Regions from separate parts of the Homo sapiens genome. Here regions 2 and 3 are each linked to region 1. The links are contacts of gene promoters, found by promoter capture Hi-C in blood cells and fetal thymus (Javierre and others, 2016). All regions are on one chromosome and are shown on one strand. The core of a region is centred on a gene start or on the middle of the fragment in contact, and the rest is flanking DNA. Distances in the headings are between cores, read along the strand shown.

What was found. Contacts are between HindIII fragments. The CHiCAGO score rates a contact against its expected background, and 5 or more counts as called.
Region 2: a contact is called between a fragment that was not itself captured here and the fragment with the promoter of ZC3H8 in region 1, in 9 of 17 cell types (erythroblasts, total B cells, naive CD8 T cells and 6 more). The highest score is 7.6, in erythroblasts.
Region 3: a contact is called between a fragment that was not itself captured here and the fragment with the promoter of ZC3H8 in region 1, in 1 of 17 cell types (endothelial precursors). The highest score is 5.4, in endothelial precursors.

The regions. Positions count from the first base shown.
Region 1 is chr2:112,252,510-112,257,136 of GRCh38, reverse strand. It overlaps ZC3H8 (zinc finger CCCH-type containing 8), which reads left to right and starts at 2,095. Exons shown (of 9, transcript NM_032494.3): 1 at 2,095-2,229. The coding sequence starts at 2,156. RefSeq lists a cis regulatory region at 111-362 and a silencer at 1,913-2,122. The HindIII fragment of the contact is 1,301 bases long and covers 1,914-3,214 here.
Region 2 is chr2:112,484,856-112,489,482 of GRCh38, reverse strand. It overlaps TTL (tubulin tyrosine ligase), which reads right to left. Exons shown (of 7, transcript NM_153712.5): 2 at 3,488-3,566. Among named protein-coding and RNA genes, the nearest start is that of TTL, 5.0 kb to the right of the region's middle. The HindIII fragment of the contact is 3,165 bases long and covers 203-3,367 here.
Region 3 is chr2:112,447,414-112,452,040 of GRCh38, reverse strand. No RefSeq gene overlaps it. Among named protein-coding and RNA genes, the nearest start is that of RGPD8, 16 kb to the right of the region's middle. The HindIII fragment of the contact is 3,039 bases long and covers 1,033-4,071 here.

The sequences.
Region 1 (4,627 bases), core at 846-3,345:
TAGTTAGATATTACTATGTAGTAAACTACTTAAAAACTTAGTGGCTTAAAACAAGGACCATTTATTTATGTGGGTTAGTAATTTGGACTGGGATCATCTGAGAGTCTTTGGTTCTCTGCAGGACTCCATCATGTGTGTGCTCAGCTGTATGTTGCCTAGGAGGCTTTGCTTTTAGGGTTTTGCTAGCTGTTGACTGGGTGTTTTCGCTGTCCTCCATTAGCCTTATCTTCTACATGCCTCTCCCTTATCGTCAGCAGGGTAGCCTGAGTTTATTGTCCTGAAGAAGGCAGGCATATAAGAGACAGCAGACACATACAAAGCCTCTTGGGGCCTTGGCTTGGTATTGGCAGGCCACTTCTGCATTCTACTAGCTAAGACAAGTCATTCTATCAGGCAAAATCAACTCAGATTAAAGAGGAGGTGAAATAGATCCTACCTCTTTATGGGAGGAGCTGCAAAGTCACATTGCAAAGGACATGGATACAGGAAAGGTTGGAGAAATTGGGGCCTTTTTTGGCATCAATCTAACACAAACATATGTAGCCTTTTATATAGTCTTTGTCTGAAAATGCTAGTGTCTGATGCCTTTGCAGGTCAGATGTTTTAGCTGCTTTTTACCTACCAATCTAATTTTCATTTGTGTCTGGTTATCTTTTGCTGTATGTTGGATATTTTATATAAAAAAGTGTGTATGGTAACAATTTGGGTTCTATAATAATGCTTCCTGCTAAAGAGGGGGTAATTCTAGTTTTTATCTCCTTAATTCAATTTTTTCTCTGAATTTTTAGTAATGATTCATGTTCCATAGGTGATGGCCTACAATATAAACAACATGGGAAAGTAGAATTTCCCTGGGGAAGATGTCTGGCTTCAAATAGTTCCCTTCACTAATCGGTAAAGGGATCCTGATTCATGCCAAGAATCAAACACTCCCTTCACTTACAGAAGCAAGTCAGGTTCTCTATCACTGGCCCAACCTAGGGTTTGAGCCTTCCTTTCTACAGGTCCCTTAAATGGCATTACATTGAGCAAAACTGAGCAATTTCCTGTTCTGCAACAGCATGCTCTATTTTCCTGCCTTCATACAATTCTCTCTACTTGGAATGCCCACTTCCTCTTTTCCTATGGAAATATCTCAAGACCCAGCTCAAATACTCCCTTCTCAAGAAGCCTTCCCAACTGGATGCAATTTTTTCCCTCTTCTGAATTCTCTTAGTATTTGGTACTTTTTAACGGACTTTTCTGTCTTGAGGTTACTTGTGTATTCATTTTAATTCCCATTCAATTGTAGAGACCCTACAAGTTACATTACCTGACTACACATCTGTTTATTCATTTCAAAACTGTGAATGGTAATAGAACATCTTTTACAGGGCTGTTGTGAGGATTAAGTTAGCTAACATGTGAAACGCTATTTCTAAGGAATAGTAGTGGAGTGCTCAGATAAATGTTAGCTGTTACTACCATCCCTTAGAAATACTGTGATTTTGATGGAAGAGTTTTCACCAAGGTGAAAGCAGAATCCTAACAACTAATTTTAAAAATTCTGGGCTGGGGCCGGGCGCGGTGGCTCACGCCTGTAATCCCAGCACTTTGGAAGGCTGGGGCGGGCGGATCACGAGATCAAGAGATCGAGACCATCCTGGCCAACATGGTGAAATCCCGTCTCTACTAAAAATACAAAAATTAGCTGGGCGTGGTGGCAGACACCTGTAGTCCCAGCTACTCAGGAGGCTGAAGCAGGAGACTTGCTTGAACCCGGGAGGCGGAGGTTGCAGTGAGCCGAGATCACGCCACTGCAGTCCAGCCTGGACGACAGAGCTTGACTCTGTCTTTAAATAAACAAACAAACAAACAAATAAATAAATAAAATAAACAAAATTCTACTATCTGAGGTAAAGGACGAAAAAGCTTACAGAAGGGCAACCACGGCGGCGCCTGCGCAGAGCCGAGGCGAAGGAGGCAGGGAGAGACCCGGCCTGCCCAGAGTCGCGGAGGGCGGTGCAGCGCATGCGCGGGGCAGGTGAGGCTGCGCGGGGCGGAGCCTGTGGCCCTGGCGCGGCTCTGGGTCCGTCTCGTCGCGTCCGGGTTGTCACTCTCTCGGGTTGTTACTCTGTAGCTTCCCGGCTCGCGAAAGGGAGGACCTGTCTGGGTCATGGATTTTGAGAATCTTTTCTCAAAACCCCCCAACCCGGCCCTCGGCAAAACGGCCACGGACTCTGACGAAAGGTGATCCCATATCTTTTCATCTTTTGAATGCAGGGGCTCAGCGGGACTCCGCCTCTTAGTTTCTTCTGGATTGGAGGCAGTCCGGGGCCACGTCCGGGCCGCGTCGCGAGGGCCCGTGGGGAGCACGTGGGCCGGCCGGGCGCCACCGTCTGACCTATAGAGGTCGTGCGGGGTCCGGGTGGGAGCAGAAGCTGAACGCGGGGCTCAGGCTTAGGCCGTCAGGGCCGGGGCTGTCGAGAGCCTGGGCGGGGGAGCGGGGTGGAGGCGAGAAGGCTCCGGGATGCGCCCCTTTCTCTGCACAGCAGCGGGTGAGGAGCCCGCCTCTGTGGTCCCGTAGCGTCTGTCTTTACCGTTGTTGCCTGTTTCCACGAGACCGTAAACTCCCAGAGGACACTGATGTGACCTTTTTCACTGACACCTCCTAGGTTCTTTTCTGTAGAAAGGATGAAACCACAAGTTTATTGAAAGGTAAAGAATAGGCAATACTCTGCCATTAGTCCACTGATTTGCATGGAAAGACCCTAAAGACCACAATAAAGCAACAGACGTCATTTGGACTTAATATTTCCATTAGGTTGGAAAAGCAAGTGAGACTCTTGGTCAGATGGCCCTAATTTGTAGATTATATTTTTGGAGCAGTGTCTAGTGATTTGAAATGCTAAAAACCACCATCTTTGTTCTTAAACCTACGTCTTTTATTTCCCTCAACTGAGATATATTTCCAGTTGTGATTGATTTTACCATTCGATATTGGTCAGCTGTTCACTCTATCTCAAATTTTACCTTAACTGATCATCCAGAGCTTTACCTTGTGCTTTACATGAAATAAATCACTTAATCCTCAAAACAAACTTAAAGAGAAGATGATGCCGTCCTCGTTTTACAGATGGGAAAACTGAGGCACGGAGAGGCTAAATAACCTGCCGAGATTGCACAGTGTAAGTGGAAGAGCTATGTCCAGGATCCATGATTTTATCACCAAGCTTCTCATGCAAAATGACTAAAATTTTAAAATAAGCCCTATAAATATTGGAAAGAGACAGATACACTAATTACTTGCAGATGATATAATTTACTAAGAAAAATAACTGGTACTAATTGATATGTTATAAAATACATAAGAATTCATCACACAAAAAAAAGATAATAGCAACATTTAAAAATCCGAACAGCAGCTATCAGTTTCAAAGTGTGTTGGACACAAGCTCCATTCCCCAAAACTTGACTGCAATACATAAAAGACACTTGGAATTTTGCCAAAATGATGGGTGAAGGATGGTATGGAAGTATGGTGAGCTGTCCATATTATTTGCCCATTTTTCTCCTTTTTGGTCTTTTTCACATTCTAGGATCTCTTATCTGCGAATACTTTACTCCCAATTGTCATTTGTCTTTGCCTATGGCATTATTTTTCAATGTAAAAAGGAATGGGGATGTTGTGGTTTGGTTTTATGCAGTCAGATGAATCAGTCTTTTCTCATATGGTTTCTGGTTTTTTTTCCGAGTAATTTGTGATGGGAATACTTCTCATTCATTCAAAAAATCGTATTGAGCACCTGCTACGGCCTTGGGGATATAGTAGTAAATGAAGAAGAGATGAAAATTTCTGTACTAATGAATTTACATTATTAGGGGAAGGGGGAGACATACATAAATATATCATATTTTAGGTGGTACTAAATGCCCTGAGAAAATGAATGAAGGGTAAGGGGAAAATAAGCACTGGTGGGATGGTAGGGAGGGAGTAGTTTTGTGGGTTTTTTTTTTATTTTTTTGAGCAGAGTCTGGCTCTGTCGCCCAGGCTGGGGTGCAGTGGCGCGATCTCGGCTCACTGCAAGCTCTGCCTTCCGGGTTCACACCATTCTCCTGCCTCAGCCTCCCGAGTAGCTGGGACTACAGGCGCCTGCCACCACGCCCGACGTATTTTTAGTAGAGACGGGGTTTCACCATGTTAGACAGGATGGTCTCGATCTCCTGACCTTGTGATCTGCCCGCCTTGGCCTCCCAAAGTGCTGGGATTACAGGCGTGAGCCACCGCGCCCGGCTGGGAGGTGTAGATATTTTAAGAAGGTAGATAAGGAAAGCCTCACTGATAACATTGGTAAGTTTTAAAAATCTGTGTAGGGACCTGAAGGAGGTGAGGGGGTTTCATAGTCCAGAGGGGTGGAGAGGAGTCTGTATAAAGGTCCTCAGACGGAGTGAGCTTGGTGTGATTGGGTTAGGGGAGCAAAGTGGCCAGGACAGCTGGGGTGGAGTAAGAGGGACTTGGAAGTCTGCGAGGTACTGGGGTAGGGTTAGGGGAGCCCAATCATGGAGGAACTGGTAGGTGCCGAAATAAGGACTTTGGCTTTTACTCTGAATGAGACAAGAGACCATTGGAGGGTTTTTCAGCAGAGTG
Region 2 (4,627 bases), core at 536-3,035, 230 kb before region 1:
TTTTGAAAATAAGCTTTTGCTTCATAGTCAAATCAATTCTTCTAGAAAAGATGAACTAGTTTTGAAAATGTGTGTGCAATATTAAAGGAAATAGATCTTCTGGCTTTCAAAGTTGTTGAAAAACTTTTATGTACAACTTGAGTACATAAATCTACTTCTTCAACCATACATTTTTTATGTAATCTAAATTCAGATCAAAGCTTTCCAATGAAAATTTACTGTTTGAATTAAGATGTGCTACATATGTAAAATTCACATTAGATTTTGAAGAGTGAATAAAAGAACGTAAAATATAATAGCTTTTTATATTAATTACATGTCAAAATAACATTTTGGATTTATTTAGTTAAATATAATAAATTATTTGGGTTTTTTAAATTAATTTATTTCTTTTTTGAGACGGCGTCTCACTCTGTCACCCAGGCTGGAGTGCAATGGCATGATCTCAGCTCACTGCAATCTCCACCTCCTGGGCCCAAGCAATTCTCCTGCCTCAGCCTCCCAAGTAGCTGGGACTACAGGCGCCTGCCACCATGCCCAGCTAATTTTTATATTTTTAATAGAGACGGGGTTTCACCATGTTGGCCAGGATGGTCTCAATCTCTTGACATCGTGATCCGCCCGCCTCGGCCTCCCAAAATGCTGGGATTACAGGCGTGAGCCACCACGCCCGGCAATAAATTATTAATTTAATTGCAGCTGTTACTTTTCTTTTCTTTTTTTTTAAGAAGGAGTCTCACTCTGTCTCCCAAGCTGGAGTGCAGTGGCATGATCTCGGCTCACTGCAACCTCCACCTCTCAGGTTCAAGCGATTCTCCTGCCTCAGCCTCCCGAGCAGCTGGGATTACAGGTACCCACCACCATACCCAGCTAATTTTTGTATTTTTAGTAGACATGGGGTTTTACCATGCTGGCCAGATTGGTCTCGAACTCCTGACCCTAAGTGATCTGTCCGCCTCAGACTCCCAAAGTGCTGAGATTACAGGCGTGAGCCACCACGCCCGGCTTGCAGCTGTTTCTCTGCACTTATTTTAATGTGGCTACTAGGCGGTTTATAATTACATGTGTGGGTAGCATCCTATTTCTGTTGGACAGTGCTGGTCTGTAAGATGACCTTGGTTTGGAAGCCCTCATTTCCTGCACAGAACCAAGACCAGGCTCTGCAGGAAGTCCTTTGCTTTTGTCCCATTTCCTCATGGGCCCATTTGGGAAGTAATCAGAAATGGAGATTTATTTACATCTATAAAACAGCAATGCTCAGGAGAGGAAAAGATAGCCTCTGATCTGTACCAGGAGAAGAAAAGCCCCTCAGGGTTCTAAGACTATGGCCTTGAGGCCTCAGTGAAATTTCCGAAACTCCCTGAAGTGACAGGGGGAAGGACTGGGCTGCACAGGGTCTTGCACTGAACCCCACCAAGGCTCTGGGAAGCCTCCCAAGGGTGCACAGTCACAATGGCCAGGGGTCCCATTTGTGCAGATTAAAACTGTCCTGGTTTAACAGGAGCTACTATGGCCATGGGCAACCTGGCTGTCCTCTCTGAACTGCCACTTTGTCCTATAAAATCAAGGAGACTTTATTTCTAACTCTCTGGAGCCCTTTCAAGCCATACAAAATCATGGGAGAGAGACAAATGGATAAAGGGAAGCATCATATCCTGGAATTACTGCAAGCCCCTCACAGGACAACTGAGACAAAGATGGAAGCTGATGAGGATGATGCAACCTCCAGCCTGCATAGGTCATGTCACCATTACAAGGTGCTATCACAGATCACACTGCATGCCTCCGAGGGGCAAGGGGCAGGTACTGTCACCACCATCCATCCCCATTTTACAGATGAGACACGGGGATTCTGAGTGGTGCTCTCCAAGGTCACAGATATTTATCACAGTTGGTCACGACTCCAGCCCTGTACTCACTCTGCTTCACTATAACTGCAAAATATACAAACATGGAAACCATTATTTTTTTACTGAGTCCTCTGCTTCCTACTTTATCTTTAGGGGAAAAATCGTAGCAGAAGAGGTTTAATAAATATTTAATAAGAATTTCTAAGTGAATAATTTGAATAAACAAGCATGTCCCACTTCTATTCCTGATTCCATGTAACAGTCATTTGCATTCTAAATATACAAACATGTCACAAAATGACTTCAGGAAGCCTCACTCTCCTTCAGGAGTGGGATGAATCATGATAAACCCATCACAGAGAGGAGTGGGTACATAAGTTACCAGGGCCAATGAGTGAACAAAAAGCAGAAATGTTCCTGTGAGCACCCAACCTAGTAAATATCTAGAGCCCAGAAAGAAACGTTAGTGGGAAAAGAGCATTTTGCATTGAGTCATATCTTCCAGTACCTGGCTACACACACATGTTCACCAGTCATCATGGAAAGAATACTGGAGGCCCACGACAGCCCTGATTTTAGTGGCCCGACCCAGTGTTTCCTACTGAAACAACAGTAATAGCAATGACAACTATACTAATAGCAATAATAAGGAATGCTTTCACTTATACAGTAGGAACAACAAGACGGGCACAATTCAAAGCCCGTAGCTAAATTAGCTCAATTAATCCTCATAACAACCTTAGGTAGTTATTATTATTTCCCCATTTTACAGCCAAGAAAATTAAGATAGTGTCAAATTCTCATTATGTACCAGGCCACTGTGCTATATAAACTTTACATGCATCACCTTATTTAATTCTCATAATAGCCTTACGAGGGAGGCACTGAGGCTTAGAGGGATGAGGAGATCTGCCCAAGCTAGTGAGAGAAGGAGCTGGGGTGAACACTTACACTTTTCACCCTAGATCTTAATCGTTGTCTAACACCGTCTCCTTCCACTTTGTGATACCTAGCCATAATCCAACTGCTCAGAGATGGGCAGTGCAGTGAATGCTCTTATACCCTGCCCAGATATCCTTTCTGAGGGACCCCTTACAGCCATGAGAGAAGGATGCTACGGGCTATATATGCCCTTCTCTGGGGACCAGCCCCTGCCCAGAAATGCCTGCGAAGCTAAGCCCTCCATCTCTTCCCACAGCCAATGGCTGACTGATACTGGAGCATAGAGGCCTGGTCCTTGCTCAAAATGTGACAACTCTGAGGTGCCATTCACTCTGGTGCTCCTTGGAGTCAGGAGAGGCAAGACTTCAGCTGAAACCACCTCTTTACTTGGTTCTCCCCCTGCCCTGCCCTGTCCTTGCTTCCCGATGGCTGTCTCTTAAGAATCCTACCCCAGGAAATCACTTACACAGGAGACCCTGAGTCAGGCTCTGCTTCTAGGAGCCTCACCTCAGAGGCAGACAGGCTTTATCAAGCACCATGTTTTGGACCGCAACCAAAGCGGCTTAGAGGAAGCTTCTGAACTGATATTTGTTGGCTTTTAAAATAAAAGTATGTTTGTCCTTTAAACAACCCCACATTTTTGCCTAAGTGCTTCATTTAGGTAAAAAATGGAAAACAGCGGTCTTAACACTTACTTCACTAAAGAAGCTTTGCGACACAGTTTGTCAGCACCCCTGTAGTAATTCACCAACTGTACCAGCCCGGGCTCGTGACCTAGGAAGGAAAGAGGAGGCTCAGAAGGGACACAGGACACAGCAAGCAGGAGAGAGGACAGCTGTGTCATGCCCAGCTTTTCTCTCTCTCATCTCAGGATTGGCTGTTAGAAAATGGAAAATGGAACAATTTTGTTTCTCTGTCCCCAGGGACCCTCTTTCTCTCAGTATTCCGCTGGCAACCTTCATTCTCCCCACAGTGGATATTATATCAACATCGTAGGTTTGCCAAAACTGCTGCTACCTTTGTCTGTTTTTTCTTGTTAGGGTAGAGGGTATTGAGGGTATTTTTTCATTTCACCTCTCCCTGACTGCACACTGCATTCCGCTCCTGGCTTAACACATATAGACTTGTCACTCTGTACAATAAGGCTACTTTAACAGTCACGCTTTCCACATCCGTAACCTGGCTTTCCATACCAAGGAAGGAAGGAGAACTAGAATGATGCTGGTCTCAAGCAAGTCTATCTCTGCAAGCTTCTAGGTGAAGGAAGGTAGTGGAGAGGCCATGTCTACAAAATCAGAAGCCCTGAGAGCTTTCTTCTGTGCCGCATTCCATGGGGAAACTCATTTTCAACAGCTCTTATTACATGTGGCTTTTTTTTATAGAATTAGAGCAGAAAGGACACAAAGAAAAACAATTTTTATTAAAAATAAAAAGTGTTTTCAGCCAGACACAGTGGCTCATGCCTGTTATCCCAGCACTCTGGGAGGCTGAGGTGGGTAAGTCACCTGAGATCAGGAGTTCAAGACCAGCTTGGCCAACATGGCAAAACCCCATCTCTACTAAAAACACAAAAACTAGCTGGGCGTGGTGGCGCACACCGGTAATTCTAGCTACTTGGGAGGCTGAGGCATGAGAATCACTTGAACCTGGGAGGCAGAGGTTGCAGTGAGCCAAGATCCCACCACTGCACTCCAGCCTGGGCGACAGAGCAAGACTTCATCTCAAAAATAAAATAAAATAAAAAATGTTTTGTTTCAAATCTTAATAAAACACACTGTATTTCCAGTAACAAAATCAAAGTAAGACCAAAGGAATTTTCAGTTGAAAATGCCAGA
Region 3 (4,627 bases), core at 1,303-3,802, 190 kb before region 1:
GCAGGTGGATTCCTGATCCTCAGAAACTGAGGTAATAAATGCTTGTTATTTTAAGCTGCTATGTTTGAGGGTAATTATTACACACTCTGTTGCTGCATAACGAATTGCTCCAGAGCTTAGTGGCTTAAAACCCCTACGTTTATTAGCTCATAGATTCTTTGAGTCAGGAATCTGGACATAACGTAGCTGGATCCTTGGGCTCTGGTTGCAGTCAAGGTGTCAGCAGGGCTGCAGTTACCTTCAGGCTTGATTAGGGATAGATCAGCTTCCAAGCACTCTCACATGGTTGTTGGCCAGTTTCTACATGGGTTATTAGACTAAAGCTTCAATTCCTCAAAAGCTGTTGGCTGGAAGCCTCTCTTGGTTCCTTACTACATAGGCTTTTCCATTGGGCAGTTTACAACATGCCTGCTGGCCTCACTACAGTGAGCAAGAAAGAGGGTAAGAGATGGTAAGCAAGAAAAAAGCCACAGTCTTTTGTAACTTAATCTTTGAAGTAATATTGTCAGAGGTGTTTGAACCAGAGCGACTCCATATTGAATAGGGGCTGGGTAAAATTAGGCTGAGACCTATTGGGGTGCATTCCCAGGAGGTTAGGCATTCTTAGTCATAGGATGACATAGGAGATCAGCACAAAGTACAAAGACCTTGCTGATAAAACAGTTTGCAGTAAAGAAGCCAGCCAAAACCTACCAAACCCAAGATGGCAATGAAAGTGACCTCTGGTCATTCTCACTGCTCGTTATCCACGAATTATAATGCGTTAGCATGCTAGAAGACATTCCCATCAGTGCCATGACAGTTTACAAATGCCTTAGCAATGTCTGGAAGTTACCCTGCATGGTCTAAAAAGGGGAGGAAACCTCAGTTCTGGGAATTGTCCTCCCCTTTCCTGGAAAACTCATGAATAATCCACCCCTTGTTTAGCATATAATCAAGAAAGAACCGTAAGTGTTCTTAGTCGAGCAGCCCACACCACTGCTCTGCCTATGGAGTAGCCATTCTTTTATTCCTTTACTTTCTTAATAAGCTTGCTGTCACTTTACTCTATGAATTCACTTTGAACTCTTTTTTTGTGTGAGATCCAAGAACCTTCTCTTGGGGTCTGGATCGGGACCCCTTTCCAGTAATAATATTCCATCACTTTTTCCATATTCTATTCATGAAAAGCAAGCAACAGGTCCAGGCCACACTTAAGGGGAGGGGATTACACAAGAGGTTGAATACCAGGAAGTGGAGATCACTGGAGACCATCCTAGGAAGCTGCCTACCATAGTCTGCTCTCTGGTCCCCAGTGATTCACATCCCTCCCTCATGGCAAATACATCTACAACTCTCCAAGAGTCCCCAGAGCCTCACCTCATAACATCAGCTCTAAGTCCAGAATCCCATCATCTAAATCAGGTCCAGGTATGGTTGAGATACATCAGGTGTAGTTCCCCAAGTACAGCTCCTTAAGCACAGTTCCAATTGATCTGTGGATTTCTGAAGCTAAAGAGACGAGATACCTGCCCACCTCCCACACCCAATGTATTAGTCTGTTCTCATGCTGCTAATAAAGACATACCTGAGACTGGGTAATTTACAAAGGAAAGACGTTTAATTGACTCACAGTTCCACAGGGCTGGGGAGGCCTTACAATCATGGTGGAAGGCAAGCGGGGGGAGTAAATCCACGTCTTAAATGGTGACAGACAAAGAGAGAATGAGAGCCAAGTGAAAGGGGAAACCCGTTATAAAACCGTCAGATCTCATGTGACTTATTCACTACCACCAGAACAGCATAGGGGAAATTGCCCCCATGATTCAATTATCTCCCACTGGGTCCCTCTCACAACATATAGGTATTACGGGAGCTACAATTCAAGACAAGATTTGCTTGGGAAAATAGCCAAACCATATCACCCAATATACGATGGTGGGACAGGCACAAGATAATCTCTACACACAAAAAAGGGGCAAATAGGAGGCACACAGGTGTTACTGGTCCATAGCAATTCTGAAATCCAAATTTTAGAACTCAGTCTCATTCCTGCTAAAAATAATTCTCCATGGCTCTTGGCTCCATCCTCTGGACTCCTTATTTTTGCCCTCTGAATCATCCTTTTTTTTTGGAGACACAGTCTCACTCTGTCACCCAGGCTGGAGTGTAGTGGCGCAATCTCGGGCTCACTGCAACCTCCACCTCCCGGGTTCGAGTGATTCTCCTGCCTCAGCATCCCGAGTAGCTGGGACTACAGGCTCCCACCACCATGCCTGGGTGATTTTTGTATTTTTAGTAGAGACGGGGTTTCACCATGTTGGCCAGGCTGGTCTTGAGCTCTTGACCTCAAGCGATCTGCCCTCTTCAGCCTCCCAAAGTGCTGGGATTACAGGTGTGAGCCACTGTGCCCGGACTTTTTTTTTTTTTTTTTAAAGAAAAGGTAGCATCTGTTTTCTCAGCCTGCTTCCTGCTAGAATTTTGGAGGTCCAACAATTCCTTTTTATGTTGTACTGGGTCTGCCTTTTCCACTCCAAACTGACACACAGATTTCTCAGGAAATTTGTGGGTCTTTTTGTTTGCTTGCATAATGTGTTAACTACATTAGACGAAACCCTACAAATCTCTCTGGATAAACCCTTCACTATCTTGAGCTTCTGCTGAGAGGCTGAGGAAAAATACTCTTAAGCTCCCTAGAGGTTTAATTGTTTGAGACAATCTGAGAGCAACACCTTTAATCTCTTTAAAGGGACCTTTGTGTGACTGAATATGACTGTGATCCTTTGGTCTCTCTGAGATTTTAACATTAGATTGTATATACATAGAAATAGGTAACTAATGCAGGCAGCGTTTAGCATTCTCCACTATATAGTGGATATAAAGGCAATTCCCTCTCATTATTCTTTGACTTAGTGTCTTGGTGATTCTGAAGCATTTATTTTTCCATGTAATTTTTGAAATCCTTTTAGCTAGCTCAAACATATTGTGTAAGAACTGCAGCAATATCCATACATTATTAATGTTGGGAGGATTTTTATTCCTATGATAGCGAGTCTCCCCATTCAGATACGGTGTCTCTCAATGTACTTAGTTTTAACGTCCACTACAAAATTTTATTCAAGTTAAACTCATGTCCCTGATGTTATTTTTATTTCACTTTGAATTTAGTTGCTATTCAATGACATGGTTTTCCATTTCCATTTCTGATTTCTGTTCATAGAGAAAACATGTGCAACTATTTAACCAAATTTACTTATTCGTTTAAGATTGTTTTTGTTCCTTTTTTTTTTTTCGAGACAGAGTCTTGCTCTGTCACCCAGGCTAGAGTGCAGTGGTGCGATCTCTGCTCACTGCAAGCTCTGCCTCCCGGGTTCACGCCATTCTCCTGCCTCAGCCTCCCGAGTAGCTGGGACTACAGGCACCCGCCACCACACCCGGCTAATTTTTTGTATTTTTAATAGAGACGGGGTTTCACCATGTTGGCTAGGATGGTCTCGGTCTCCTGACTTCATGATCTGCCCACTTCAGCCTCCCAAAGTGCTGGGATTACAGGCGTGAGCCACTGCGCCCGGCCTGTTTTTGTTTCTTTTCTAAAATATCTTGGATGGTTTTGCCTACTTTCCAACATTTAAATTGATTATTTCTTTTTTTTTTTTTTTTTTTTTTTGAGACGGAGTCTCCCTCTGTCACCCAGGCTGGAGTGCAGTCTCGTGATCTCGGCTCACTGCAACCTCTGCCTCCCGGGTTCAAGTGATTCTCCTGTCTCAGCTTCCCGAGTAGCTGGGATTACAGGTGCACGCCACCATGCCTGGCTAATTTTCTTTTTGGATTTTTAGTAGAAACGGGGTTTCACCATGTTGACCAGGCTGGTCTCGAACTCCTGACCTCAAGTGATCTACCCACCTCGGCCTCCCAAAGTGCTGGGATTCCAGGCATGAGCCACCATGCCCGGCCCCAATTATTTCAATTTTTGATCTAATTATATTCAGTAGAATTTTGAAAAAATATGTTTAATAATGGTGCCAGCTGATATTTCCAGCTTGAAACTGATGGATAAAATTGGCTCTGTGTTTTACTGTTTAGTATAAAGCTTTCTCTTGATGACGAATCATATTTAATCATTTTACTTGGAAACTTTGAAAAAAGATCAGAAACAAGCTTTTTAGTATTTATTGACTTAATTGTATTATCCTAGTTTAAATTGTTGATTTAATATATTGTGATAGTTGAATATTTTTTTAAAATAGTCTTAACTTTTTGGACAGTTTTGTACTTACAGAAAAATTAAGAAATTCGTACAAAGAGCACCTATATGCCCTGTACTCAATTGTCTCCTATAACCAACATCTTACATGAGTATGGTGTATTTGCAACAATTACTCAACTAATATTGATTTGTTATTATTAGCTAGTGTGAATATTTTATCCAGATCTCCTTAGTTTTTGCCTAATATTATTTTCTGTTCGAGGATCTCATCCAGGACACCACATTACATTTAGTTGTCATGTGTCCTTACGCTCCGCTTGGCTGTGACAGTTTCTAAGACTTTTCTTGTTTCTGATGACCTTGACAGTTTTGGGGATACTGGTGAGATTTATTCCTGTTGATGCTGACCTTGATCACCTGGCTGAGACGGTGTCCATTACG